Regions from separate parts of the Homo sapiens genome. Here all the other regions are linked to region 1. Evidence: promoter capture Hi-C in human tissues and cell types (Jung and others, 2019). All regions are on one chromosome and are shown on one strand. Each heading gives the region's core, a stretch centred on a gene start or on the middle of the fragment in contact. The rest is flanking DNA. Distances are from core to core; before and after follow the strand shown.

The links. Contacts are between HindIII fragments. The study calls those that stand out against the background at their distance.
Region 2: a contact is called between the fragment with the promoter of FOSL1 here and the fragment with the promoter of SIPA1 in region 1, in 4 of the 25 tissues and cell types used here (dorsolateral prefrontal cortex, lymphoblastoid cells, spleen and 1 more).
Region 3: the fragment with the promoter of TIGD3 here is called in contact with the fragment with the promoter of SIPA1 in region 1 in 1 of the 25 tissues and cell types used here (spleen).
Region 4: a contact is called between a fragment that was not itself captured here and the fragment with the promoter of SIPA1 in region 1, in 2 of the 25 tissues and cell types used here (dorsolateral prefrontal cortex and lymphoblastoid cells).
Region 5: a contact is called between a fragment that was not itself captured here and the fragment with the promoter of SIPA1 in region 1, in 4 of the 25 tissues and cell types used here (bladder, dorsolateral prefrontal cortex, lymphoblastoid cells and 1 more).
Region 6: a fragment that was not itself captured here is called in contact with the fragment with the promoter of SIPA1 in region 1 in 4 of the 25 tissues and cell types used here (bladder, dorsolateral prefrontal cortex, lymphoblastoid cells and 1 more).
Region 7: a contact is called between a fragment that was not itself captured here and the fragment with the promoter of SIPA1 in region 1, in 2 of the 25 tissues and cell types used here (dorsolateral prefrontal cortex and spleen).

What each region holds. Positions count from the first base shown.
Region 1 is chr11:65,636,851-65,640,648 of GRCh38, forward strand. It overlaps SIPA1 (signal-induced proliferation-associated 1), which reads left to right and starts at 1,251. Exons shown (of 16, transcript NM_006747.4): 1 at 1,251-1,332. PCNX3 (pecanex 3) reads left to right here. Exons shown (of 35, transcript NM_032223.4): 35 at 1-589. The coding sequence ends at 128. RefSeq lists enhancers at 72-862, 1,814-1,883 and a silencer at 1,094-1,463. The HindIII fragment of the contact is 7,218 bases long and covers 1-3,798 here.
Region 2 is chr11:65,898,656-65,902,451 of GRCh38, forward strand. FOSL1 (FOS like 1, AP-1 transcription factor subunit) reads right to left here and starts at 1,733. Exons shown (of 4, transcript NM_005438.5): 1 at 1,586-1,733. The coding sequence starts at 1,684. RefSeq lists silencers at 604-831, 797-916, 1,525-2,124. The HindIII fragment of the contact is 4,995 bases long and covers 1-2,555 here.
Region 3 is chr11:65,353,458-65,356,928 of GRCh38, forward strand. TIGD3 (tigger transposable element derived 3) reads left to right here and starts at 1,294. Exons shown (of 2, transcript NM_145719.3): 1 at 1,294-1,500; 2 at 2,336-3,471. The coding sequence starts at 2,352. It overlaps DPF2 (double PHD fingers 2), which reads left to right. Exons shown (of 11, transcript NM_006268.5): 11 at 1-805. RefSeq lists silencers at 1,022-1,081, 1,172-1,491, 1,512-1,571, 1,582-1,751, 1,812-2,001. The HindIII fragment of the contact is 4,951 bases long and covers 1-3,471 here.
Region 4 is chr11:66,041,666-66,045,265 of GRCh38, forward strand. It overlaps GAL3ST3 (galactose-3-O-sulfotransferase 3), which reads right to left. Exons shown (of 3, transcript NM_033036.3): 3 at 1-2,012. The coding sequence ends at 842. Among named protein-coding and RNA genes, the nearest start is that of GAL3ST3, 5.7 kb to the right of the region's middle. The HindIII fragment of the contact is 5,576 bases long and covers 1-3,600 here.
Region 5 is chr11:65,279,217-65,282,857 of GRCh38, forward strand. POLA2 (DNA polymerase alpha 2, accessory subunit) reads left to right here. Exons shown (of 18, transcript NM_002689.4): 7 at 322-410; 8 at 1,776-1,931; 9 at 2,454-2,516; 10 at 3,263-3,305. Among named protein-coding and RNA genes, the nearest start is that of POLA2, 19 kb to the left of the region's middle. RefSeq lists an enhancer at 54-1,253. The HindIII fragment of the contact is 6,666 bases long and covers 1-3,641 here.
Region 6 is chr11:65,926,834-65,930,698 of GRCh38, forward strand. No RefSeq gene overlaps it. Among named protein-coding and RNA genes, the nearest start is that of DRAP1, 9.3 kb to the left of the region's middle. RefSeq lists a cis regulatory region at 1,039-1,604 and enhancers at 1,141-1,570, 1,285-1,579. The HindIII fragment of the contact is 6,362 bases long and covers 1-3,865 here.
Region 7 is chr11:66,080,602-66,084,231 of GRCh38, forward strand. All of the region lies in intron 1 of PACS1 (phosphofurin acidic cluster sorting protein 1), which reads left to right. Among named protein-coding and RNA genes, the nearest start is that of PACS1, 12 kb to the left of the region's middle. The HindIII fragment of the contact is 4,404 bases long and covers 15-3,630 here.

The sequences.
Region 1 (3,798 bases), core at 1-2,500:
ACATTCCTTGCTTGGACAGCAGTGCCCCTGAGAGTGGCACACCTATGGGTGCCCTGGGCGACTGGCCTGCCCCTATTGAGGAGCGTGAGAGCCCGGCAGCCCAGCCCCTGCTGGAACACCAGTACTGAGCTACCTGGCGCCCACTGGACCACCTCCTAGGATTCAGTAACGGACCTGCTCTGCTGCCTCTCTGCTGGACCACAGAACTGAGTGGCTTTGGCCTACATGTCTGAACCCTGACCTTTGGCTGCCTTGGCCAGAGTACCAAAACTGAGTGACCCAGACCTCTGACCTTGACCCCTGATCTCTCTCATCCCCAGTCCAGGGCCTGGGCTCCCCAGATGGAGGCAGTCAGCCTCCCAGCCAGGCCCTAAGAGCCAAACCATGGGCTGGTCCCACTTGGAGCCTGTGGCCAGGACCACCTCAGCCCCTGGGCCTGCACTGCCTGCAGGTGTGGCCCCCTTGGCCTGGACCTGGGGCCTGAATTGTGGGAAGGGTGGTTTCTTTCTTTCCTTTTTTTTCTTTTCTTTTTTTTTTTTTTTTTTGTGCTTCGGAGACATCAGAATTAATAACACTATTTTTGATTTTGGTTGGCAGTTTCTTTTTCTACCTGGGAATGGGTACATGATAGTACAGGCGGCTAAGTTGGGATGGACAAGCACGCAGAGGGGTGAAGGATGTGGGGCTGAAGTCTAGTAGAGATCAAGGGCAGACCAAGGTGGGGTTCAGGTAGAACCGGGTCCTCTTCACCGCATGGCTGCTCCCTTTTCAAGCCTTTATCTGAAGGGTATTGTCTGCCATTTCCCACCATATGGTCAGACTTCCAGGTCTGGTGGCTCCTACATTTATCAGGCTTGTTCTTGGCCAAAGCCTTTCTCTGCACCTCAGCTGCTCCAGGGCGTAAAGAGATGACACCTATCTAAGGTGTTTTTAGAATAAATGAGAGCGCGCTAGTGGAATGGTTGCCCAGGGCCCAGTGCTTAGCAAGTGCTCCATAAAATAGTGGCAGACTCTTGAGCACCTGCTGGCCGGGAGCTGGACGCTAGGTGGCCTCCGCTAGCCCTCCCGGTTGGTCTGGAAGGCAGGCACAAGTTTCTCAGGAGAGGAAATGGCCTTAGAATGAGCACTGCTCGGTGCTGACCTCCGCCAGGCCTGGAATCCCCGCTGCTGCGCTTCCCGCCGCAGACAGCTCCCGGCCGGCCCCGCCTCCCGGCATGGCCCCGCCTCCCAGCATGGCCCCGCCCCCAGGCGGAGCCGGCGCCGGGAGCGGTAGCGGGAGAGCGGCAGCGGGACCCCAGCGCGGGCGGCGGCGGCTGGGCGGGAGCCCCAGAGGTACTGGCGGGAGCAGGGGACGGGAGGCACTACTGTCGGGCCCGACAGGGGAGAGGTGGCCTAGCCGTGGGCCCGGGTGATGTGTATGGGAGTGGGGTCCTCGCCACGTTCGCCGCCAGCACCCTCCCAACTTCCCTCCGGGCTCCAGCTCAGTCCCGAGTCAATATGTCCAGCCCCCTGTCTCTGACCAGCCGTTCCTACTCTCTCTGTGTGACGGCTTAGCCTGGCCAGCCAGCCGGTGAGTGGAAGCGGCGGCTCCTGACTCCTGGTGGCGGCACTGTGACCCCCTCCCCCTCAACACTGCAAGTGTGTGCGGGGCTCCCCCTTATTCTGAGGCTCCTCTTCTTCTTAGGCGGCCTCCACCCCAGTCCCTGGCCTGGCCTGGGAGGAAACATCTGTCGCGCCCCCTGGCAGCCGAAATGGGGTCATGACCTCCAGATGTGCTGGGAAGTGGCCAGCTCCTCCTCCTGGGGCAGCCAGGCCTTCCGGATCTGTGGGGGCGGGGCCGGCCCTTTCCCCCCACCCCTAGTGACACAGGCCCGGAGGAATGTCCTAGCCTCAATGGACCCTGTGTGAAGCTTCAGGGTGGGGGGCAGAGCCCGAGAACACCCCTCAAGGCAGCGCCAGAGCCTGGCACTGGGCCACAGCAAGAGGCAGCGCACAGGCTGGGTGCACACATGCACAGATCTCACTTCCAAGCGTGCAGAGCTCAGCCCACAAGGAGCGGGGCTTGCACAGACCCCCTCCCTCATGCCCTCCTACTCCTTCACACACTATAGCCCAGGCCCGAGCGCTGAATGTGCCCAGAGCTTGGCTCATGGAGCCAGGGGCTACACCCGTCACACACACACATAGCTAGCGACACTCACCTCATTCTTCTCAGTCTCTCAGCAGCCTTGGGAGGGGACAGAAATAATTAAACCCAATTTTTTTCTTTGTTTTTTTGGAGACAGTCTCACTCTGTCCCGCAGGCTGGAGTTCAGTGGCGCGATCTCGGCTCACTGCAACCTCTGCCTCCCAGGTTTAAGCGATTCTCCTGCCTCAGCCTCCTGAGTGGCTGGGACTACAGGTGCGCACCACCACACCCGGCTAATTTTTATGTTTTTAGTAGAGACAGGGTTTCACCATGTTAGCTAGGCTGGTCTTGAACTCCTGACCTCAGGTGATCCCCCCGCCTTGGCCTCCCAAAGTGCTGGGATTACAGGCCACAGCCACCGCACCCGGCCAGTTAACCCCATTTTAGAGATGAGAAAACAGAGGCTCAAGGTCAGCATGGGAGTTTATTCAGGAGAAATCAAGGTAGAAGCACCTGGGCTGGGGAGCCGACTCTTGCTTGGTTCTGGAGGCCCCAGACGAAGGGTGTGTGGAGCCCCTCCTCCACCCCCCTCCGGCCCAGCCCCGCATGATGTTGCTGGATGCTGCATGAAGACCCACCATTAGATGCCTGTACCCCCAGTGGAGGTTCCCCAGCTCCCTGTCCTCACTGCCTACTCCATCCAGGGCTTGCCTGGGTGTGGCTTCCCTCAAGTTCTCACACCACCATTTGCACCTGCCTCTGGCGTCACGTTTCCGCACTTAGCAGGTCCCTGGGGCTTTGGGTGTCTCAATCTTGCATCCTGTGAGACCTTGAACCTCAGCCCAACACCCACCCCCCAAAACCTACGCACACAGACAGCAGTGGGCAGGTGCAGCCCTGCTTAGGGCCTGGAGATGGGCAGACCCAGGCTCACATCCTAGCTCTGACACGGAATTGCTTCAGGCAAGAGCATCTCCTCTGGACCTCATCTGACCATCTGTCACATGGGGTTCAGACCTCCCTGTCTGCATCAGTGAGACCAGGTAGGCAGAGGTCCCTATGGGTCCCTGTCATTGTGACTCCTCTTGCCCCCAAGCCTGGGCACAGTAGCCTGCAAGAAGGTGAGTTGGCCTGTCCTTCAGGGCAGGGTGACTGGGGTCCCATGACAGCTGCTGTGACCCCAGCACCTTCCTCAGGATGTGGGGGCCTGGCAGAGGGCTGGGCCCACAGTTGGGGCTACTTCCTGTGCTGAAGGAAGTCCTCTTGCCATTCCTGCTGCCCTGCCGCTGCCTCCCTGGGAACCCATGTGTCCTTGTGGTATTGAGGCCTTGAGGTCCAGGGCACTGAGATCAGACCTCTCTGGGTGATCAGCTCTCCAGGGACCCTGAAGGAAGTGGGAGGGGCAAGGAGGAAGGTCTCTGGGGACAGGACGTCCTCCCTTTGTTAAGTGGGCAGGACCCAGACACCAGTGGCCCCTGGGTTTCCCGTCCCAGCCAATACAAGTCATCTGTCCGGTTGGGCTAGGTCCTGGTGGGACCCTTACTCTGGGCCCAGGCCAAAGCTAAGGTGTGTGGGTGGCGACTGGGGGACCCTGGCAGTCCCAGGGCTGCCCAGGCTCCAGGACCCTCAGGACCAAGACCCAACAGCCCAGCCTCTAGCCTTGCCCAGCT
Region 2 (3,796 bases), core at 483-2,982, 260 kb after region 1:
TTTAATTGGCAATTTAAAAAATTTTAGTGGACTAGGCATGGTGGCTCATACCCAGCACTTTGGGAGGCTGAGGTAGAAGGATCACTTGAGCTCAGGAGTTTGAGGTCACACCGGGCAACACAGTGAGACTTCATTTCTACAAAAAAATTAAAAAATTAGTTGGGTGTGGTGGTGCGTGCCTGTGGCCAGGTCGCTTCCCAGCTAGGATCTCAGTAGGATTGCTTGAGCCCAGGAGGCTGAGGCTGCAGTGAGCTGTGATTGCACCACTGCTCTATAGTCTGGGCAACAGAGGGAGACCCTGTCTCAGAAAAAAAAAAAAAAAGAAAAGAAAGAGAAGGAAAGAAAATTAGTGGCATAAAGTTATAGTGGGTTTTTTTTTCAATCGATGAGGTCTTCGATTCCGTGAAATATGGTAAATGATGTAGCAAGCGCCCAGCACAACGTCCCTGTTCCCATTCTATCAGCCAGCTATCTGAGGAGTGGGTTGGGATGGGGCTCAGTGTTCTGGGAGAAGTGGGTTCTAGCTCTGCCGCTGGGCCCTGGGTGTGGGCGCCCAATCGTCCGGGAAGCGCCCACAAGCCCAGGCAAGTCCCGACAGCGGTAGCCCGAGCCCAAGCGCTGCGGGCCCGGCGTCCCAGTGACCCCAGTTCCGGGTCCGAGGCACCGCCGGCGGCATCTCCCACTCCCGGGCCCGGGCCGCTCCAGGCCAGGAAGGGAGGGACGCCCCGGGTGACTCAGCCGCCGTGACTCGGCCGCCGTGACTCGGCGGAACGGACGCCCCTCCTTCCCTCCCCTGTCGACACGTGCTCGCAGCCCCTCGACAGGAAATGGGCACCTGCAGCCTCCCGGGTGCCCCCCGGCGGGCAGCGGGCGCCGTTAGGGGCTGAGAGTGGGGTCGCGAGAGTCGCCCGCAGCCTGACCCCGCGCACGTCCCGGAACCTCGAGGTCTCTATTCGCCGCATTCGGCAAAGGGATCGAGGGCCGGTCTCCGGGGACCTGGCAGGTTCCACTGCCCGGACCCCCCTGGACTCCCCAGGCCGAGAAACGATAGGGACTTGGCGACGGAGGGGCGAAGGACAGACAGACGGACGGACACGCGGAGGGTCGCAGACCGGGCCGGGACTCCCACCCTGGCCCAGCTGCTCTCCCGACGGATCCCGCCTCCCTCCCGTGTGGGGACCCTCACCCCAGCCCAGACTCCAGATCCCAGGAATTCAGCCCGAAGCGGAGAGACCCTCCTAGCCTTCGAGGCGACCACCCTAGGCGCCCACGCCCCTTCTGAAGCAGGGTGGACGCAGAAGTCAGAGGTGGGCAGGAGGAGAGAAAGCGGGCACGGAGACGGAGGGACGGACGCGGACGGCGAGGGAGAAGGGGGCGGCTGGGAGAAGGGGAGTTCGCGGGTCTCTGCTGCCCGCTGCGCGGTGGGGGCAACTGGCCCCGGACGGCGAGGGGCAGGATCCTCGCCCCAGCCCCCAGCCCGGCCCCGACTCCGGTTCCCCGCTCCAGTCCCGGAGCGTGCGGGAGTTGACCCCGGCCTCCCACGCGCGGTCCTCCCGTGGGACCACCGGCGTCGGGCCCCACTCACCTGCTGGGCTGCCTGCGCTGCGGCCGGGGGCTGCGCGGGGCCGCCGTACCCGCCGCCGTTCCCGGAGCTCGGGCCGGGTTCCCCGAAGTCTCGGAACATGCCCGGGGCTGGCGGCTCTGCGGGGTACACGGCTGCTGGGTTCTGACTCACCCGCGCCGTGCGGAGTCTTTTCTTTTTATGAATGAAAAGTTCTCGGGCTGAACCACTGCGACCGCGGGGGGTGGGGGCGTTGCAGCGGCGCGGTCACCTCCAGGCTCCACCCCCGAGACGCGCCGCCTTGGCCCGTCGGTCCCGAACTTGGCGACGCCTCCCCAAGTCCGGCTGCAGCCTTTTCACCGGGATGGGCCCGGCTCGGCGTTCCCCGGAGGCTGCGGGCCCGCCCCCCTGACGTAGCTGCCCATACATGGTGTAACTTCCTCGCCGCGCCCAGGTGGAGCCCCGGGTTCCCCTGCGGACTGACGCACCTGCCAGAGCCCGCGCCCCGCCCCAGCCCTCTCGAGGCCTGGGCTAACCTCCGTTTCTGCTCCCACAAAATAGCACGAAAGAATCACATCTCTAGGAGCCACGCCAACCGCCACCCAAAGCTTCGTGGAGTGAGGTCTTTCCACTGGCCTTGTTTTAAGGCTTCGAGTATATGAAAAGTGAATAAATGACAAACCAGGGTTACAAAAATGGTGGCATATTTTATTTTACTTTATATTTTTGAGACCGGGTCTCTGTCACCCAGGCTGGAGTGCAGTGGCTCGATCTCGGCGCACTGCAGGCTCAACTTCCTGAGCTAAAGGGATTCTCCTGCCTCAGCGCCCCCTCCAAGTAAGTGGGACTACAGGCGCGCGTCACCACACCCAGGTAATTTTTGTGTTTTTTGTAGGGATTGGGTCTCGCCGTATTGCCCAGGCTGGGTGGTATATTTTAAATGTTTGCGATAAGGTAATGCTTTGAACTAACCCCACATAAAATGCAATATAATAGTATTACTCAGGATAATTTCAGGAGCTATAACGAGTTTTAATTCAGGGCCACTACAGGTGTCCTGAGGTCTGATAAACGCCATCTTCATTACGGTCAGTGCCTTTCGGAGGCTTGTGGCCACCAGACTTGTTTGGAGAGTATGTCAAAGGTGAGTGAATGTGAGGCAGGTATCATCCTCATCTCTGTTTTACAGATGGGGAAACTGAGGCTGGGAGATGCTGAAATGAATTGCTTGAAGTCGCTAAGTGAGTAGCTGGCACAGGTTGCCAAGTCACAGCCGTGGGCACTCCAAGCCCAGGCTCAGCCAAGATTTTCAAAGCCCTTACACCTTCACAGACACCTTGTCGCACATCCAGAATGTTAGTGCTGGGCACCATCCCAAAGCTTCTCTCTGATTACTTCCATCATAGATGAGGAAACTGAGGCCCAGATGGAGTACTGAGCTGTCAGTTGTCACACGACTACAGAAAGAGGGCTGGGGCCAGGTGTGGTGGCTCATGCTTGTAATCCTAGCACTTTGGAAGGCCAAGGCAGAAAGAACCATTTGAGACCCCATCTCTACAAAAAATTATAAAATTTTCTGGACATGGTGGTACGCCTGCCTTGTGGTCCCAGCTGTTCTGGAGGCTGAGGCGGGAGGATGGCTTAAGCCAGGGAGGTTGAGGCTGCGGTGAGCTGTGACTGCGCCACTGCAGTCCAGCCTGGGGGACAGAGCAAGACTCAAAGTAAATAGATCAAGAGAGGGCTGGGCTCTCCTGCTTCTCCATCGGTCCTTCCATTTCATCAGCTCTAGCTTTGCCCTCTGGGCTACTTTCCTTGGGAACACAGGCCAGAAGCCTGTGGGTGCACTCAGGACTTAGAGCCAGGAAGTCCAGATTGCCCCTGGGGTTCTAGTCCCAGAGCTACCATTTTCTGTCTGTGTGACACTGGGCAGGTCACCTTCCTTCAACTGGGCCTCCCTGCTGATCTCACAGAGCTGTTGTGGGATCAAGTGAGATCACAGATGTGAAAATGCTTTGTAAGCTATAAAGTGTTATGCACTCAGAAAGTGGTTACCAGCCTGGTGCCTCTCCTTTGCCTTTGAGCGACCCAATGCTTGTCACCCTCTTGTCATCATCATCTCTGTGTGTGTGTGTGTGTGTGTGTGTGAGAGAGAGAGAGAGAGAGAGAGAAAGAGAGAGAGAAAGGAGAGGAGAGTGTTTTTGAGGCAGTATGATCCGTGGACAGAACACCCGTGCT
Region 3 (3,471 bases), core at 44-2,543, 280 kb before region 1:
GTGTGGCTTCAGTTGCCTGCAGCGCTCCCAGGCCAGAGCAAGTGCTCTAGGATCTGAACTGCCCGCAGTGCAGCCCTGCAGCCTTTCCCAGGGCACGTTGATGTGCACACAGTTTCCCTGAAGGCAAAGTGAACATGTGGAGAGCTTACGTGGCAGCGCGTATGTCTTCAGTGTGTGTTTTAGAAGTCCAACTGTTGTTTTTATGTTTTTAAAGGAAAGATTTGAATCAAGCAGTTATGGGCCCCCTGAAGTATCCTTTTTTCTAGAACATTCTGAAAGTCATCCTTGCCTATGGGAAGCCTAGGCCGGCCTGCACTGTTATGTTCAATAAATAAGCAGGGTGCTCTGGGCTGGGGATTGTGTGAGGAGCAGAGCGCAGCCCGTCCTCATGCTTTTCCACTGAAGTAGGCCAGGCAGAGAGGGAGTACAGCAATGGATGCGCTTTGGCAGCTGAGTAGTCCGAGAGCCAGAAAAGAAATGTGGAAAATAAGAACGCTGTAGCAGGCCTAGGTGAGGAAATTTAGGAAGGGTTTGCGGGAGGTAGGATTTGAGATGGGTCTTGGAGAGTTGGACAGTGTCAGCCGGTAGGACGGGGGTGCGGACGGAAGCCTGTGAGGAAGGCAGAGGATGCGGAGCTGTGAGCGGAGGGAGCAGCGAGGCTGGAGAGCAGCTGGGCTGCGGGTCAAGACGTCTGCGTTTAATTCGGGACTGAAGGTTAGCAGGGAAGGGAACGATGCCAGATCTTGAGTTTAAGAACTTGAATCTTGTAAAGTACCAAATCTAATAAAATACTCGTCCTAAATCATTACTGGCCCAAGCATGCAGTGTTTCCGTGGCCGACAGACTCGAGCCAGCGCTGTCCATGGTAACCAGCTTTTGTGTGGCTTAAAGCTTGCATCCATTTTCTCCTTTCATCGTTTTCCCAAAACAATTCCGTGAGGGCTGTTAGCCCTGCTTGGTAGACGAAGAAGCCGATGCGGTCTAGGGTCACGGCCAGGGAGGCTTTGGGACGCCAAGTCAGCTCGGCGGTCACCACACCACCTACAGGGCTCGTCGGGCCCTCGGGGTCGGCGGCTGCTGGAGGCGCCCAGGGGAGTCCTGCTGGTTCCTGGCTCCGCCTCCCGCCCCTCCGCGCTAGAAGCCCCGCCCCCAGAGGGGCTCGACGAACCGCCACTTCCGCAACGTCCAATGAAACTTAGCCGGGGGAGGGACGGGGCGCCACTGAGGACCAATCTGCTTGGGCCGGGGCGGGGCTGCGGCGGGTGGGTGCAGAGGGGCCGCACCGCGGACTTCGCAGCCGGGAGAGAGCCCGGCGCGGGCGGCGCGCACGGGACTCTGCTGTGCGCGCGCCCGCCCGCCCGCCGTCCGCGCAGGCCCTCGGTCCGCTCTGCCCTCGGGGTCGTGGCGCCCATCCCTCCCCTGTTCTGCTGTCGCCGCCCGGACAGGGGCTCGGGAGCCGGGCTGGGGGCAGGGGCTGGAGCCGCGGGACCAGCGCCTGAGGTGGGTGCGGAGCGGGAGGCCGGGCGGGCGGGCGCCTGGGGCCGCCCCGCCGACATACTCCGGGTCGAGGGGGAGTGACCGGCCAGGGCACGGAGTCCGGCTGCCGGCCTGCCTGGGTCCGGGCGTTCGTTCCCGCGCCCTGGGACCCTCCCAGGCCACCACCCTCCCCGCGGGGACACCCCGCCCCTCCGCTGCCCGCAGCCTCCTCAGGCCTCCCGCCCTTTGTCGCTCGTGCACCTGCGCCCTCGGCCCTGCCCTCTCGCTCCCCTCAGGACTGACCGTCGCCTAGCCTCCCTCTCAGGACCCGGCACCAAATTAGCCTCGCTCCTTCAGACACCCTCTGTCCCCTTTGTCGTCTGTACACCTGTCACCTCAACTCTGTGTGCATCCACCCACCTCCCACCCCCCAGCGGCGTCATCTGAATCCAGCCCAAGCCGCCTCCCACTCCCTCCCGGGGGCTCCTCCCCCGCAGCCCCGTAGCCCCACACCTGCCCCCTCGGCCCCAGTCCCAGGCCCTCCCCCGTCCGTATGCCTTTGTTATCTCTGCAGCTGTCCCCTGCACTTTTCATCCTTCTTCCCGAGTGAGGCCAGACCCCAGCCCAGACTCCCCTGTCCTTCTGAGTGGAGAGACGCCCCCTCCCCAGCTCTGCCCTGGCATCCTGGGGACGGGGCCAGCCGGCTTCCACTCGGCCTAGCCACTTCCTCTTTCAGCGGGTCCAGTCTCACCCGGTGCCTGCGCAAGTCCTCATCTAATCTCTTTTCCCTCCTGCGCTCCTTTCCTAGCTCTTCCGGCCTCAGATTACTCTACCCGCTCAATCTTTCCTCCCCGCACAGGTGCCCCGGAGAGGCCATGGAGCTGAGCAGCAAGAAGAAGCTTCACGCCCTGTCCCTGGCCGAGAAGATCCAGGTGCTGGAACTCCTGGATGAGTCCAAGATGTCCCAGTCGGAGGTGGCCCGGCGCTTCCAGGTTTCCCAGCCCCAGATCTCGCGCATCTGCAAGAATAAGGAGAAGCTGCTGGCGGACTGGTGCAGCGGCACAGCCAACCGAGAGCGCAAGCGCAAGCGGGAGTCCAAGTACAGCGGGATCGACGAGGCTCTGCTCTGCTGGTACCACATTGCCCGGGCCAAGGCCTGGGACGTGACGGGGCCCATGCTGCTCCACAAAGCCAAGGAGCTGGCCGATATCATGGGCCAGGACTTCGTGCCCAGCATCGGCTGGCTGGTCCGCTGGAAACGCCGAAACAACGTCGGCTTTGGGGCCCGCCATGTTCTTGCGCCTTCATTCCCCCCTGAGCCACCTCCCCCGGGGCTCACATCCCAGGCTCAGCTGCCTCTTTCCCTAAAAGACTTCTCTCCAGAGGACGTGTTTGGCTGTGCTGAATTGCCCTTGCTGTATCGGGCAGTGCCCGGCAGCTTTGGTGCATGTGATCAAGTACAGGTGCTGCTGTGTGCCAACAGCAGGGGCACCGAGAAGCGGCGGGTACTGCTGGGTGGGCTCCAGGCTGCCCCGAGATGCTTCTTTGGGATCCGCAGTGAGGCTCTGCCTGCCTCCTACCACCCGGACCTGGGCATCCCCTGGTTAGAGTGGTTGGCACAGTTTGACCGGGACATGGGACAGCAGGGCCGACAGGTGGCTTTGCTGCTGGCTGCCCGAGTGGTGGAGGAGCTGGCAGGCCTGCCTGGGCTCTACCACGTGAAGCTCTTGCCTCTGGCCGCCTCTAGCACCACGCCTCCCCTGCCCAGCTCAGTGGTCCGGGCCTTTAAGGCCCATTACCGACACCGGCTGTTGGGCAAACTGGCTGCCATCCAAAGCGAGAGGGATGGCACCTCGCTGGCCGAGGCCGGGGCAGGCATCACCGTGCTGGACGCCCTGCACGTGGCGTCTGCCGCCTGGGCCAAGGTGCCTCCTCAGCTCATTTTCAGCAGCTTCATTCAAGAAGGGCTGGCTCCCGGCAAAACGCCCCCGTCCT
Region 4 (3,600 bases), core at 814-3,313, 410 kb after region 1:
ATCTATCTGGTTCACCTGTATCCCCAAGTTACAGAGATGATGCTCAGTAAATGTCGCAGAATTTTGTGAAAAAGAACGATGTGGAAAGTGAGTGGGGCTAAGGTGGCCAGTCTGTGTTGGGGGCCCAGTCGGTCAAGCGGTTGAGGAGGGTTGTAGGCCTATGCCAGGTGGCGGGGGACCTTGAGTCCAGGCCCCCATCCTCATGGGTCCAGCCACAGCTCCTCCTGGGCATCCGTTTCATCCTCAAATGTGGGGAATCCGGCTTCTATGACTGACATACAACTCGCACATTTTAAAGATGTTTTATTAAAAAAAAGAAAAACCAACCAAACAAAAATCCCAACCCAAGAACTCTTGGTTCTGGGAGACTGGGAGCAGCTTAGGTCTGTGGGGAGGGTAGAACCTGGAAGACAGAAAAGTATAGGGAGCCTCAAGCCCTGGGAGGGAGAGCAAGAGCAGCCTTTCCCTAGGGCTGAGCCTCTCTCCATGGGGCCTGGGCTTATCCACTTGGAAAAGACAGGTTGTGGGGGCTCAGCCCCCAGAAAAAGGCAGGGTGAGCAGTTCTGGACAGCCCTCAGGCCTCTTGTCAAAATCACCAACCAGCTGGGAAGGAGAGGGTGGCCCAGCGCTGGATCCAGCCTATCAGCGCCGTGCCCGAAGGCAAGGTTCAGCCCACGATCGGGAGCGGGGGCTCAGATAGGGAGGCGTACCCCAAAGTTCAGCGAGGGACTCAAGCCCCTTGAAAAGAAAGGGCTCTCATGGGGGCAGGACATGGAGGCAGCCCCTGGCTGGACTCCTGGGAGGGCAGGGCAGGACCCATACTCCTGGAGGCCTGCGGAGCTCAGGGACCTTGAGGGCCGCGAGGCAGCACTCGGATGGGCCGAGGCGGGGGATTGTCCAGGACGGGCTCGGGCCGAGCCCGCGCACCGCCCCGGCGCTTCTGCTTGCGCAACAGGTAGTTCGAGTACTGGACCTCGGGCATGGCCAGCTTGAGGCAGGCCTCGGTGGCCGGGCCGGCGCCGCCGCCGGGCAGGTCATAGCCCATAATGTCCACCTTGCGGCTGGGCTGCCACGGCTGCAGCTGCTTGGTGCGGATCTGCGCGGCAGGCCGCAGCAGTGGCTCGTCCCCGAAGCAGCGCCGCAGTAGGCGCTGGCGGGCCTCGCGCAGCTCGCGCGCCTCGCGCTCCACGCACGCGCGGCCCGCGCGCGCCACGTGGCGCCAGAAGGTGGCGTTGAAGTGGTCGTAGAGGCCGGCGTCCAGGGCGTTCCAGGTGCGCGCCGCCCGCGCCAGCGCCGCGGGGATGGCGGCCAGGCGCGAGCTGGCGGCGCGCGCGTTGAGCTTGGCGTAGAGCACGTCGTCCAGGTCCCAGGCCAGTAGGCGCCGCAGCAGCACTAGCGACTCGTCGAAGTACTCGGCGATCATGACGAGCGAGAAAACCTCCTCCACCTGGCGGATGAGGCCCGCCAGGTAGGCGGCGTCGTCGCGCGGGCTGCGCTCATTGTCGCCGCCCAGGTCGTAGGCCAGCGTGTTGTGTGCGAACATGGCGAAGTGCTCGCCAGCGCGGTAGTATGCCTCGGGCGCGCGCAGGAAGGCCTCGAGCGAGGCGTTGGGTACGCGCCGGAAGGCCGGGCAGTACTGGTTGTAGTAGCTGAAGAGCGACTCGAACATGGCGGCCGGCTCGCGCAGGATGGTGACATAGACGGTGCTGGGCGGCATGAGGCGCTCCAGCTCCGCACGGTCGAAGCGCAGGTGGCTGGCCAGCACGTGCGGCGGCCGCGTGGCCGGGTGCACGAAGTGCGCCGAGAAGTTGCGGGGGTAGCAGAACTGGTGCTCGCAGCTCGGGTGCGGCAGGGCCACCGTCAGGTTGTGGCGCTCGGCAAAGCGAAACAGGATGTTCTGCACCGTCGTGCCTGCCGTCTTGTGAGTCTTCAGGAAGGCCACAGTCATGTGCTTGGGGCGCGGCGGCGAGTTCCGCAGAGGAGGGCAGCTCAAGGGGAACAGCTTGGGGTACCTGCCAGGCCCAGGGAGTGTGCGGAGAGGAGGGTGTGAGGGGGCTGCCGCTTGACCCCTGCCCTTACCCAAGGACTGTGGGATGCCCCACAGCGCGGCCCCGCCTGGGCTGCACTCATGGAAAGGTCGAGGGCGGTGCTTGGTAGCCTCTAAGATGCCCTCTATGATCCCTGCTGCCCTCCTGGTATTCATGCCCTTGAGTATTCCCCTCACCTGAGTTAGGCTGGACTTATCATTGCATCTAAAGAAGAGAAGAGGGCAGAAATGATGGGATGTCACTTCTTAAATTTCATCATAGAAAGACTGTGGCTGGCTAGTATCTTGGTGTCTTTCACTCAATCTGGGATGACAGATGATGGGGGAAGCAAGCTGCCATATAGTGGGCAGCCCTATAGGGAGCTACCACTAAGTGGGAAAAGCCCACAAGGACCTAAGGCCCTCAGTCCACCAGCCGGCTTGAAGACCTGAAGCCTGTCAAAACCACGTGAGTGAGCTTGGAAGCTGATCCCTTCCAATCAAGCCTTCGGATGAGACTGCATCACCAGCAAACACCTTGGTTGCAACCCCATGAAAGACCTTGGTCCAGAAGTTCCCAGTAAGCCACACCTGGCTTCCTGACCCAAAATAACAGATGTTTGTGTTTTCAGCTGCTAAGCTTTAAGATAATTTGTTTATGTAGAAATAAATAAGGGACAAAGACCCCTGGAGATCTTTGAGGAATCCCACTTTGTATATGTAGAAACTGAGGGCCAAAAGGAGAACAATCACTTACACAAAGTCTGGAGACGACTCACATGGTCACTAAATCCTTTTGCTCTTTCTCATTTTTACTCTTTAACTGGCTCCTCACTTTGTAGATGGTTGGCACTGGGCTTTGCAGCAACCCATTGTTATGTTTCTCTTGAGGCTTCTAAAGCCTCATTAATTCAGTCATCAAATATTTTTTGGGTGTCCACTATGTGCCAGGTTAATGCTAGGTTCAAGAAATACAGTAATATACAAAAACAATCCTAGCCCTCGTGAAGCTTTCATTTCTGTTGCTTCATTCTTAAAACATGGGTGTTTGGGATTTCAAACCAAATTATCTGGCAAGGGGGGCTGGGCGCATTCACACCATTCTCAGGGGCAGACAGTGTAGAAAATGGGGACATGAAGTCTCCGAGAGGTGCAGGGATTTGTTGGGTTCACACAGTGAGTCAGGAGTAGGGTTGGGGTTCCCATGAATCACATGGTATCCTGTGTGAGGGTGACTGGCTGTGTCACACATATCATGTCTCACTTTATAGATGAGAAAACGGGGGCTCGGAGAAGTGAGGGGACTTGGCCTTGCCCAGCACTACGGAAGTTGTGAGAAGTTGTTTCCACTGGGGAAATGCTTAGCTGCATGCTGTGGGGAGTTGAGCTGGATTCGGATCTCAGCTAACTGATTCTGTAACTTTGAGCAAGTCACTCAGCCCTTTCATTGAAGAGCAGTCCCTGTCCAGGGAGGCTGTGTGGCCCTAAAGGGAAAGCACTTTCAGAATAGAGGGGAGGAGCAAAGCCTAGCAGGACCCTTCTAGCAGGTGGAAGAATGGGGAGGGGAGCTCCGG
Region 5 (3,641 bases), core at 1,142-3,641, 360 kb before region 1:
TTCTTCAGGTTGGCCTTGACTTGCCTAAAACCTCAGTGAGGACTTGAGTAAAGGGCAGACTTGGAGATGGGGTGGGGTTCATGCTGATTCCCTGGAATTGTGCTATGGGGTCTCCTGTGGCCAGATGGAAGGCCAGATTCAGCAACCAAATATCGGAAAATTGGCAAAGGTTTTAGAAGGTTTAAACTGGCCAGATGTCCAGGCACCCTTCCTGCTTCTGTAAAATGACTGACTTTAATATTTTACAATGTGCTGTATTTTCTCTTCTTGGCAAGTGAAATGTCTTAAACATAATACTTTTTTCCACTTCTGGGATTGTAGTTCTGACCTGTAAGATAGAAGAACTTGGCAGCGAACTCAAGGAACATTACAAGATTGAAGCTTTCACTCCTTTGCTAGCCCCAGCACAGGTAAGAGTTGTTCTAATAGTTCTCACTAATTAATATTACGTTTTTAAATCGATGACCAAGAGGCATCCTTCTTGCTTCCTTTTTCACTTCTTGTCTGTGTTCTAGTTTGAACATCTGTCTTGGTTGAATTTGGGAAAATGGGCCCTTCTGAAGAAAGATTTGTAAGTGCTGTCTGGTTTTGTGGCCAGAGAGTGATTTTCTTCCCACTTGGATTAGAGTCTTGCACATAAGCAGAGACTCAAGGCCTTGTTTCCCTTGGTGGTGAGTCAGGTAGCTCCCCGGGGATTTCCCACAAATAGAAGCATTCACGTATCGAGATAAAAGGACAGCAGCGACGGTGGGGTTTTCAGAATCTTGTTCTCTGGACAATGACTCACAGTCTCTCCCCTGGTTTGGTCTCTTGTTATAGACAAACTGCTGCCAATAGTATCTTTATATCATAGTTTAATCTGGCATATATACCAGTGCTTTCTCTCTAGAATGTTTTCTAATCTAAGGGGAAATATATTCTAGAAGTTTCTTTAAAGTACCTTTGTCAATGTTTACATTCAAAGAATGATCAGTTGGGGAAGTGATGCAGAACTGTGTCATAGAAGGAAGTGTTAGAGGACTTGGAAGGAAGTAATTGAGGGAAGGCAGGGAGGCACAATCACTGGGAAAGATGAGACTTCCTCTGTTTTCTCCCAAGAGTGGGAACAGAACAGAGGAAGCCATGGAGACAGAGATTTTAGCTCAATTAATAAAGAACTTCCTGTTAAGAGGTTGTATGGTATGTGGCTAAGGATATGGCTCTAGAGCCAAATTTCTGGTTTCAAACCCAAGCTTCACCCACAGTTTGACCTTGACTAAATTATCTAACCTTTCTGTTGCTTGTTTTCCTCATCTGTAAAATGGATACAGTAATATCCACCCGATGGTTGTTGCAAGGATTAAATGAGTTAATACATATAAAATGCCTAAGAATACATTTTAGAACAGTGCATGGTATTTAGTAAGCTCAAGAAATGTTAGCTATTATTAAGTAGTTATAGCTGCCCAAAGATGCAGTGGGCTGCCCTGGGGTGGTGAGGACAGGGTGGGGTAGGCATCCAGGGGCAAGTTCCCCTACACTAGAGATGCTCACACTTAGGCAGCCTCCTAGGAAGGCTCAAGTGCTGGGTGGATGGGTGGACAAGATGCCCTTTCAGAGTTCTTCCATCCTGAGAGTCAGTGATGACGCGGTAGTCACCTCAGGGTCAAAGCAATGCCCTGCCAAGAAATGTATTTGTTGTTTGCAGTTTGTTTTGCTATTCACCCTATCGACTTCAGATTTTGAGCTCCTGCTCCAAAGACTGTCATTCTTATGCTGTGACCTTCCTTTGGTAGGAGCCTGTCACTCTGCTGGGCCAGATTGGCTGTGATAGCAACGGGAAGCTGAACAACAAGTCAGTGATTCTCGAGGGAGACCGGGAACATTCCTCGGGTGCTCAAATTCCAGTGGATTTATCTGAGCTTAAGGAATATTCTCTGTTTCCTGGACAGGTGAGATTGGAGGAGTTCCACCAGAATGCAGGCGCACTCTTTACCCCTGTAGTGTAGGTGCTGTGCCATGCGCAGCTGCTCCTCAGTTCCTGTCTCTGCTGCCATGGGGTGCAGCTGGAGCACATGCCCCAGAGCAGACACCACTGTTGGGATTCCTGTTTCCCCCATGCTCTGACCCAGGCTCTGGGACCTGACTGCGCAGCCTCAAATCCCAACTCCCCGCTCCATGAGGTGCATGACTGTGCACAAGGTACTTAACCATCTAAACTACAGTTTCTTCACTCACAAAATGGAAATAATAATTCTTACCTCATAGGATTGTTGTGAAAATTAGATCACTTATATAGAGCATAATTATTATTACTAATGCAACGCCCTTAATTCGTTTTCTACAAAAATGCCCTAAGTTTATGATTACAGAATGAGAGTAGTTGGACAATGCTTTTAACTGCCTCAAAATAATGTATTCCAGACCTCATTGATCTCCACTGCTTAGCAATCCTGTTTGTTTTTGTCTTTCAGGTTGTAATTATGGAAGGAATCAACACCACTGGTAGGAAACTTGTTGCCACCAAACTCTACGAGGTACACAGCAGTACCCCCACTTGCCTCTTGGTTTGCTTCAGACAAAGTATGTCTGGAAGCTGTCTGTTCTAGAAACTGGTCCTTTTTAGGAGCCCATTTATTTGTTAGTCAGTTCTCCATCTGTAAGTGGGAACCCACCCCTAGGCCAGGGGTCAGCAAACCCTTTCTATAAAGGGCCAGACAGTAACTCTTTTAGACTTTGTAGCTATATGGTCTCTGTCACAATGACTCAATTCTGCCTTTGTCTACAAAAGCAGCCATAGAGGACTCTTAAACAGATGACTGTGGCTGTGTTCCCATAAAACTTTATTTAAATAGTGGGCTGCAGCCAAATTTGGCCCAGAGGCCGAAAGGTTACCTATCCCTGCTCTAGGCAACAATCCTCCAGAGATTTTCGTAGAATGCCAGGAAAAGTAGCAAGAAACCATTCTCTCCCATCCTTGCCTAGAAGTACACTGATACTTTAGGCACCTGTTTTGCTCCCACTTGTTGCTGGGTATTTTATGACAATTGAGTAGTGACCTCCCATTACCTGGGTTTCTTTGCCCTCTGAGCAGTATAGAAAAATGGCAGGTCCCATCAGATCCAGGGAGCAAGACAGAGGCACATCCTTCCCCTGCCCTCTCGCTCCTCCCCACTGTCCTCCCATCACACACCTGCACCACCCCCAACCTGGTGCCCTCCCCTTTCCTTACCAAGGTGATGCCTGGCGCAAGACCTTACTTGAGCTTTTCCCCTGTTTTTAGGGTGTGCCACTTCCATTTTATCAGCCCACTGAAGAGGATGCAGGTGAGTTTCGGTTCAAATATTGTTTTGCCAACAATGAGGATGGTAGACATGAGTCCAGGAGTGCAGTTTCCCAAGCCCAAGAAAGCTGCAGAAGCTGCTGAAGAGCAATGTGACCAAGCAGTGAGGGCGCCACCATCATGAGTTCGTAGGTTTTTTGTCACAAGACCCCTGGTCTGAGCCCAGTGAGCGTTGGTCGTGCTGTCGCCTGAGTTCTGCCTACATGAAGCATGTTGTTTAAAGACTAATGTTTAACAGGTATTTTTGAAGGTTGCCTTGGAAAGGAAAAGATGTACGATTTCAAAAAGAATTTATTTACATGCAGCATGGGCAGATGCG
Region 6 (3,865 bases), core at 1,121-3,620, 290 kb after region 1:
AGTTTCTCTCTTGTCACCCAGGCTGGAGAGCAGTGGTGCTATCTCGGCTCACCACAACCTCCGCCTCTCAGGTTCAAGCGATTCTCCTGCTTCAGCCTCCCGAGTAGCTGGGATTACAGGCATACGCCACCACACCCGGCTAATTTTGTATTGTTTTTAGTAGAGACAGGGTTTCTTCATGTTGGTCAGGCTGGTTTCAAACTCCTGACTTCAGGTGATCCGCCCGCCTCGGCCCCCCAAAGTGCTGGGATTACAGGCGTGAGCCACCTTGCCCAGCCTATCTCTATTTTCTAATCTGTAAAACGGGGATCATAATAGCACCTCCTTCAGGGACATGTGATGGTTTCATGAGATATGATATGTAAGTCGCTCAGCACAGTGCCTGGCATACAGTAAGCACCCAATAAATGGTGCCTGCTGTTATGGACATTTATGGAAATAAGATCCTGGAAAGCAGATTGGAAGGGCATGTACTAAACAGACAAGGGGATGTCGTGGCTCAAAGCAGCAGGAGTAGGACTGGGATGCAGGGAAGGGGAGAGTCCATTGAAAGGGGAAGCTTTAGGCTGGGTGTGGTGGCTCAAGCCTGTAATCCCAGCACTTTGGGCAGCCAAGGTGGGCGGATCACCTGAGGTTGGGAGTTCCAGACCAGCCTGACCATCATGGAGACACCCCATCTCTACTAAAAATACAAAATTAGCCGGACATGGTGGCGCATGCCTGTAATCCCAGCTACTCGGGAGGCTGAGGCAGGAGAATTGCTTGAACCCGGGAGGCGGAGGTTGCGGTGAGCCAAGATCGTGCCATGGGACTCCAACCTGGGCAACAGGAACGAAACTCCATCTCAAACAAACAAACAAACAAACAAAAAAGAAAAGAAAAGGGAAGCTTTTCAGGGCCCTATGGCTGCATGGAGTGCCCCAAACTAAGGCGCATGTCTGCTTGATTCTATGCACCCTGTGTTGAAAAAACAGAAAAGACATTGTCAGAATGGGCCCAACCTCAGGGGACAGCATCACATAGGGCAGGGTAAAGCATGGCCCTGCAGGATTCATGGGATCATACATTGTCTTCATTCAGTCACTCAAGAAATATTTGCTGAGTACCTACTCTGTGCCGGGCCCTGCTCTGGGCTTGGGGAAGGTGAACTCAGAGAAAACACACAGAGCCTCTGCTCCCTAGCTCAGTCCAGTTGGGGGAAGGGGCAGCAGACTGATGGTAAACAAATAGGTACATTCACGCCTCTCCAGGGGTAGTGGGGAGAGGGGACCCCGAGGAGGCCAGCGTGTTGAAGCCGCAGCAAGCAAGTGGGTGGGCAGGGCCCTGGTTCCTCCAGGGGGGTGCGGCTGCCCTGTTTTTAGCCACAGATGCTCTTCCATTCCAGCCTGGTGCCCAGAGTCGGTTTCACTTTCCTCTTACCCGTTTTCTTAGAGTTTGGTTTCTGTTTTGTGGGTTCCCTGCCCCCCTTCCGCCTTTGTCTGGAGTTGCAGATTAGCCTAGTGGTTCTCAACCCTGGCTACATCTTAGAACCCTGGGGAGCTTTTTTTTCTTTTTTTCTTTTTTTTTTTTTTGAGACAGGGTCTCATTCTGTCTCCCAGACTGGAGTGAAGTGGCGCGATCTTGGCTCACTGCAACCTCTGCCTCCCAGGTTCAAGTGATTCTCCTTTCTGCCTCAGTCTCCCCAGTAGCTGGGGAGGCTACTCGCCACCACGCCTGGCAATTTTTTGTATTTTTAGTAGAGACAAGTTCTCACCATGTTGACCAGGCTGGTCTCAAACTCCTGACCTTAAGTGATCCACCCGCCTCGGCCTCCCAAAGTGCTGGGATTACAGGCCTGAGCCACTGTGCCCGGCCGACCCTGGGGAACTTTAAAATACCCATATCTGGGCCTGTCTTCAGTTAGATCAGAAGCCCTGAAGATGAGCCTTCCCAAACTCTGGTCTCGTCTTCTTAACTCGGTGAGAACAACGGTTGCCCTCCCAGTGCAGTGGTAGGAAAATCACCTATGCAATGTCAGGGCTCCTCCCCTTTATCTTCCGTTTTTCAGGGATCACAGCCCTGAGCTGCCCTTTGTCTAATATCTGAAAACACTTGTTTCCTGTGCTTTGTCCAGTTTCTTAGCTGTTTGTAGAAAAAGGGCAATTTCAGTTCACCTTACTTCCTCAAGGCCAGAACCTAGAGTCCCTCCTCATCCTTTGAACTCCCCAAGTCCTTCACCTGTCCCCTCTCCAAGTTTCTTCCCATGCTCTGGCTGGGATAACTGTGCTTGCAGGTTTCACCTCCACTTCTGGAAAGCGCCCCTCTTGGGGACACAGGGCCTGTCGGATTCACGTCTGTGTCTCCAGGATGTCTCACAGGGCCTGGCACGTGGTAGGTACGTGGTGGGCATGTTTTTGTGCATGGGTCTGCCCTGCCCTTCTTCCTTCAGGCCACCCCAAATCATATCCGTATCCCTAGAGAACTGACGCCCACCCCACTCCAACCAGGTGGCACCTCCAGGACCGCTGGTCAAGATACCCTCCCCACAGCCATTGGTCAGGGGTGGCCGTGAGACTCAAGACAGCACATGTGGCCGGGTGCAATCGCTCACGCCTGTAATCCCAGGACTTTGGAACGCTGAGGCAGGCAGATCACCTGGGATCAGGAGTTCAAGACAAGCCTGGCCAACATGGCAAAACCCCATCTCTACTAAAAATACAAAAATTAGCTGGATGTGGTGGTGGGTGCCTGTAATCCCAGCTACTCAGGAGGCTGAGGCTGCAGAATTGCGAGAACCTGGGCAGTGGAGGTTGTAGTGAGCCGAGATCGCACCACTGCACTCCAGCCTGGGCGATAGAGCAAGACTCCGTTTTTTAAATAAATTACCCAGTTCCAGGTTTTCTGTTATAAGCAACAGAGAATGGGTGAAGACATTTATTTTTATCTTTAATAATGTATTTAGGCCAATTGTATGCTAGAGAGACCTGACTACTACAAGACATCATTGTATGCTTGCCGAATAAATGAAATACCATTGATTAATTTGCAAACCACATTCCCAGTGCACCTGAGGTGGCTTCCAACAAGAACAAGGAAGGTAAAATTTAAAAAACAGAAATGGAGATTCAAGAATGTGGATGGGTGCAGTGGTATACACCCGTGCTACCAGTGGTGCACTCCCAGCTACTCTGGAGGCCCGAGGAGGGAGGATCACTTGAGACCAGGAATGTGAGTCCAGACTGGGCAACATAGCAAGATCTTATCTCTAAAAACAAAAAATTTTAGGCCGGGTGTGGTGGCTCATGCCTGTAATCCCAGCACTTTGGGAGGCTGAGGAGGGCGGATCACGAGGTCAAGAGATCGAGACCATCCTGACCAACATGGTGAAACCCTGTCTCTACTAAAAATACAAAAATTAGCTGGGTGTGGTGGTGCACGCCTGCAGCCCCAGGTACTCGGGAGGCTGAGGCAGCAGAATCTCTTGAACTCGGGAGATGGAGGTTGTAGTGAGCCAAGATCGTGCCACTGCACTCCAGCCTGGTGACAAAGCGAAACTCTATCTGAAAAAAAAAAAAAAAAAAAAAATTTAGGCCACATGGGATGGCTCACACCATAATCCCAGCACTTTGGGAGGCCAAGGCAGGAGGATCACTTGAGGCCAGGAGTTTGATACCAGCCTAGGCAACATAGTGAGACCCTGTCTCTAAAAAAATTATTAAAAAATTTTTTAAATAAAATAATAAAATATAATTAAAAGAGAAAATAAAGATCAGAAACAATAGCATACATATATAAATATGCAACCCATAAAGGCCTGTAAAAGTGCTTTATTAATTCAATATCAAATTTAGTTCTGAGCTTTCTGGCAGCCAAAGCAAAAAACTTT
Region 7 (3,630 bases), core at 967-3,466, 440 kb after region 1:
TTTAAGACTACACAGTTTAAAAGTGGGCGGGGCTGGAATTTGTCTCATGACTCATGATTGCCAGACACCAGAGCCGTTTCTGTGTTTAAACTTGGTCCCCCAAGCCCTGTCTGGTTCTCATAGCTGACAAATAATATTTAATGCCTTATTCTTTGCCAGCTGGAATTACAAAACACTGCTCAATTTCCATCATAGACAGCGAGAGGCTGTGTGGTATAGTGGCTGTGAGTGTGGGTTCTGGAGCCAGTCAGGTCAGATTTTACTATTTGAGTGACTCTGGACAAGTTTTTAACCTCTATAATGCTTCAACTTTTCTCATCTGTAAATGGGCATAATAATTGTCCCTGCTGAGTGTGGTGGCTCATACTTATAACCCCAGCAATTTGGGAGGCTGAGGTGGAAGGATTGCTTGAGCCCAGGAGTTCGAGACCAGCCTGGGCAACATAGGGAGACCCCGTCTGTACAAAAAATAGAAAAAAAAATTAGCTGGGCTTGGTGGCACACGCCTGTGGTCCCAGCTACTTGGGAGGCTGAGGCTGGAGGATTGTGTGAGCTCAGGAAGTCAAGAATTCAGTGAGCTGTGTTCGCACTACTGCACTCCAGTCTGAGCGACAGATCAAGACCCTGTCTCAAAAAAAAAGAAAAAAGAAAGAAAGAAAAGAAAAGTCCCTGTCTCACAGGATTATCATCAGAATTAAATAAGGTTAATTTTGTTATTAACACATGTTAATCGTGTGTGTGGCAACATAGAAAGCACTTAATATCAGCTATTACTGTTGCTGTTTTTCTTGTCAACCTAATTTCTCCGTCTTCCCTGCCCCCCCCAACCAAAACAAAACAAACAAAACAAACAAAACAAACATGCTTTCTTTCTAGAATTAGGGTAATATTCAGATTTCCTCGGTGGGACCATCACAAGGTCTTGGGTTCACCTGAGGCACAGATCCTGCCAAACCCCAAGCTTATTAGACTACAAAGTCAAAACAAAATATTTTGGTTCTCTGAAGCAGTGGCTGGGTCGGGATCCTGTTTCTACATCCTGCCAGCTTATATGAACGGAAGAGATGGTACAGGCCCCGCCTGCAAACCACAGCTTTGTTTTGAGCCAGCTTGACTTGACAGCTTCCCTGTTTTACCTGCTGACTTCTTTAGCCCTGGTTTGGCAGCAGAAGAGCAACTGAACCGGTTTACAGCTTGCCATTTGTCACCGGTGAAAACTGAGCAACTCCTAGGAAAATGAGGGTTTAAATGTAGTTAATTTTTTTTTCTCTTGTCTTTTTAAGTTTTCCTTTTTGTGTCTCAAGCCATAGAAAAACTACATTCTACTTTTACAGGAGAAACCTGATAATACATTTGTGGTCTCTCCTGAAACATGTAGATCTTTGGGTGTATGTTAATTTTCACCTTTAATAAGCATCAGGACTTTATTTTTCCATTTTGGTTGGAAATCTACAATTATATTTACTTGTTTCTGGTTCTTCTTTAAGAATGTATAAAACACAGATTAACATTTCCTTGAATCTGGATCTTAATGATGAATGGATTCTCATGGTAAACATCAGGGCTTAATGAAGAGTGTAGACTGGTACATGGGGCACAACTGCTTTCTTTAGTTTTTTGGTTTTGTTTGTTTGTTTGTTTTTGAGACAGTCTTACTCTGTCCCACAGGCTGGAGTGCAGTGGTACAATCATAGCTCACTGCAGCCTCGAATTCCTGGACTCAAGTGATCCTCTAACCTCAGTCTTCCAAGTAAAGGTCCACATCACCATACCCGGCTAATTTTTAAATTATTTATAGAGATGGGGTTTTGCCATGTTGCCCTGGCCTCAAGTGATCCTCTCACCTCAGCTTCGCAAAGTATTGGGATTACAGGTGTGAGCCACTATGTCTGGCCACCTTAAAAAAAAACAAACAAAAAAACACCTCATTTGTTATGAAGATAGATAAAATGTTTGTTTGTAAAATGTTTGCGCATCAGGCCGGGCGCTGTGGCTCACGCCTGTAATCCCAGCACTTTGGGAGGCCGAGGTGGGTGGATTACCTGAGGTCAGGAGTTACCTGGCCAACATGGTGAAACTCCATCTTTACTAAAAATACAAAAAAATTAGCCGGGCGTGTGGCGGTCGCCTGTAATCTCAGCTACTTGGGAGGCTGAGACAGGAGAATCGCTTGAACCCGAGAGGCAGAGGTTGCAGTGAGCCAAGATCATGCCATTGCACTCCAGCCTGGGCAGCAAGAGCAAAACTCTGTTTCAAAAAATATAAAATAAAATGTCTGAGCATCTATGTTCATAGAAATCATGACCTTCACATCTTTGAGGAGTGTCAGTGAAACTATGAATATGATGGTATAATATTTATACTGCAGCAGCTCTCATATCAGCCACCTTTTACATTGTCTTCACAAGCAGGTTTTTGTTTGGTACTTTAAATCACAGGCGATGGAATGGGGCAGTGTAATATGCCTTAAGTCTATTGTTTATGAAATTATGTCCTCAGAGTTAAAATATGTAGAAAGTAGTTGACAGCATTCTGTCATCTCTCCCATGCACTGCTTTTGCTGTGGATGAAAATGAATAAGCAACTCTGGAAACCAAGGTCCTCTGGGAACATAAAAACTCCTGTGGCTATTAATGGATTTAATTGTATTTCCTCTCTGCCACCAAGATATGCAATAAATTGTTTATGCCCTTGCCGTTAGTGGGGAGAATTGTTCATTAAACGCATGTAATGTCATTATTGCTTTGTTTTTATTACTTGTAGGTAGTCCTATCTCTCCTTTTAAAAAAAGTATAAAAAGAATGGCCGTAATTATTAAACACTGGCCATTAATCCCTTTGGTTGACTTTTTCCTCCATGGAGAAAAAGGAAAGTATCATCTCACTGGGGAAGCAAGCTTGGGCTGGAAATGGGTCATGGTCTCCCAAATCTAAGATCTGGCAGAAGGTTGGTTTTGTATGCTTTGGACTTGGGCCAAGTGATATGTTTACTTAGGCTCCAGAAGGGCCTGGTTCTAAGGCAGCCACACTGATAAATGAATGCCTTGTATCAAGTGTGGAGAGGCTTCATTATATTTAAATCCACTTAAGAGAACAGCTATAGAAGAATGACTGTTTAGGACTGTGGCTCTGTTTTCTTGTTTGTCATTTAGATATTTCTGCCAATTATAATAAATGTGGAGGAAAAAAAAAGCCAGCAAATTGCTATAGTCTCTTTAAAACCATGTGCCAGAAATGCTTTGACATTAAAGTTTGATTTCTCACTTGGCTTTACCCCACCATGTGGGTTTGGATAAGTCTTTGTAACTCTTCCTGCACATACCTTTACTGTTTCCTCATTTAGTTGAAAGATACTTATTGAGCACACATTACAGACCAGTCACTGCTTGGATACTGAGGAGAGAGCAGTGAACAAAACAGACAGAAATTCCAGCTCTTGCGGAGCTTACCTTCTGGGGACAGGGTGGGCAGCAGGCAGTAGTGAGTGAGTGAGCAAATATTAGGGTGTGTTGGACGGGAAGAATAAAGCTGGATGGGGATAAGTGGGCAGAGGAAAGAGGTCACGGTTTTAAACAAGGTGGTCTAGAAAGACCTCAGAAAGCGAGCCGGCCACATGGAACACACATTTAGG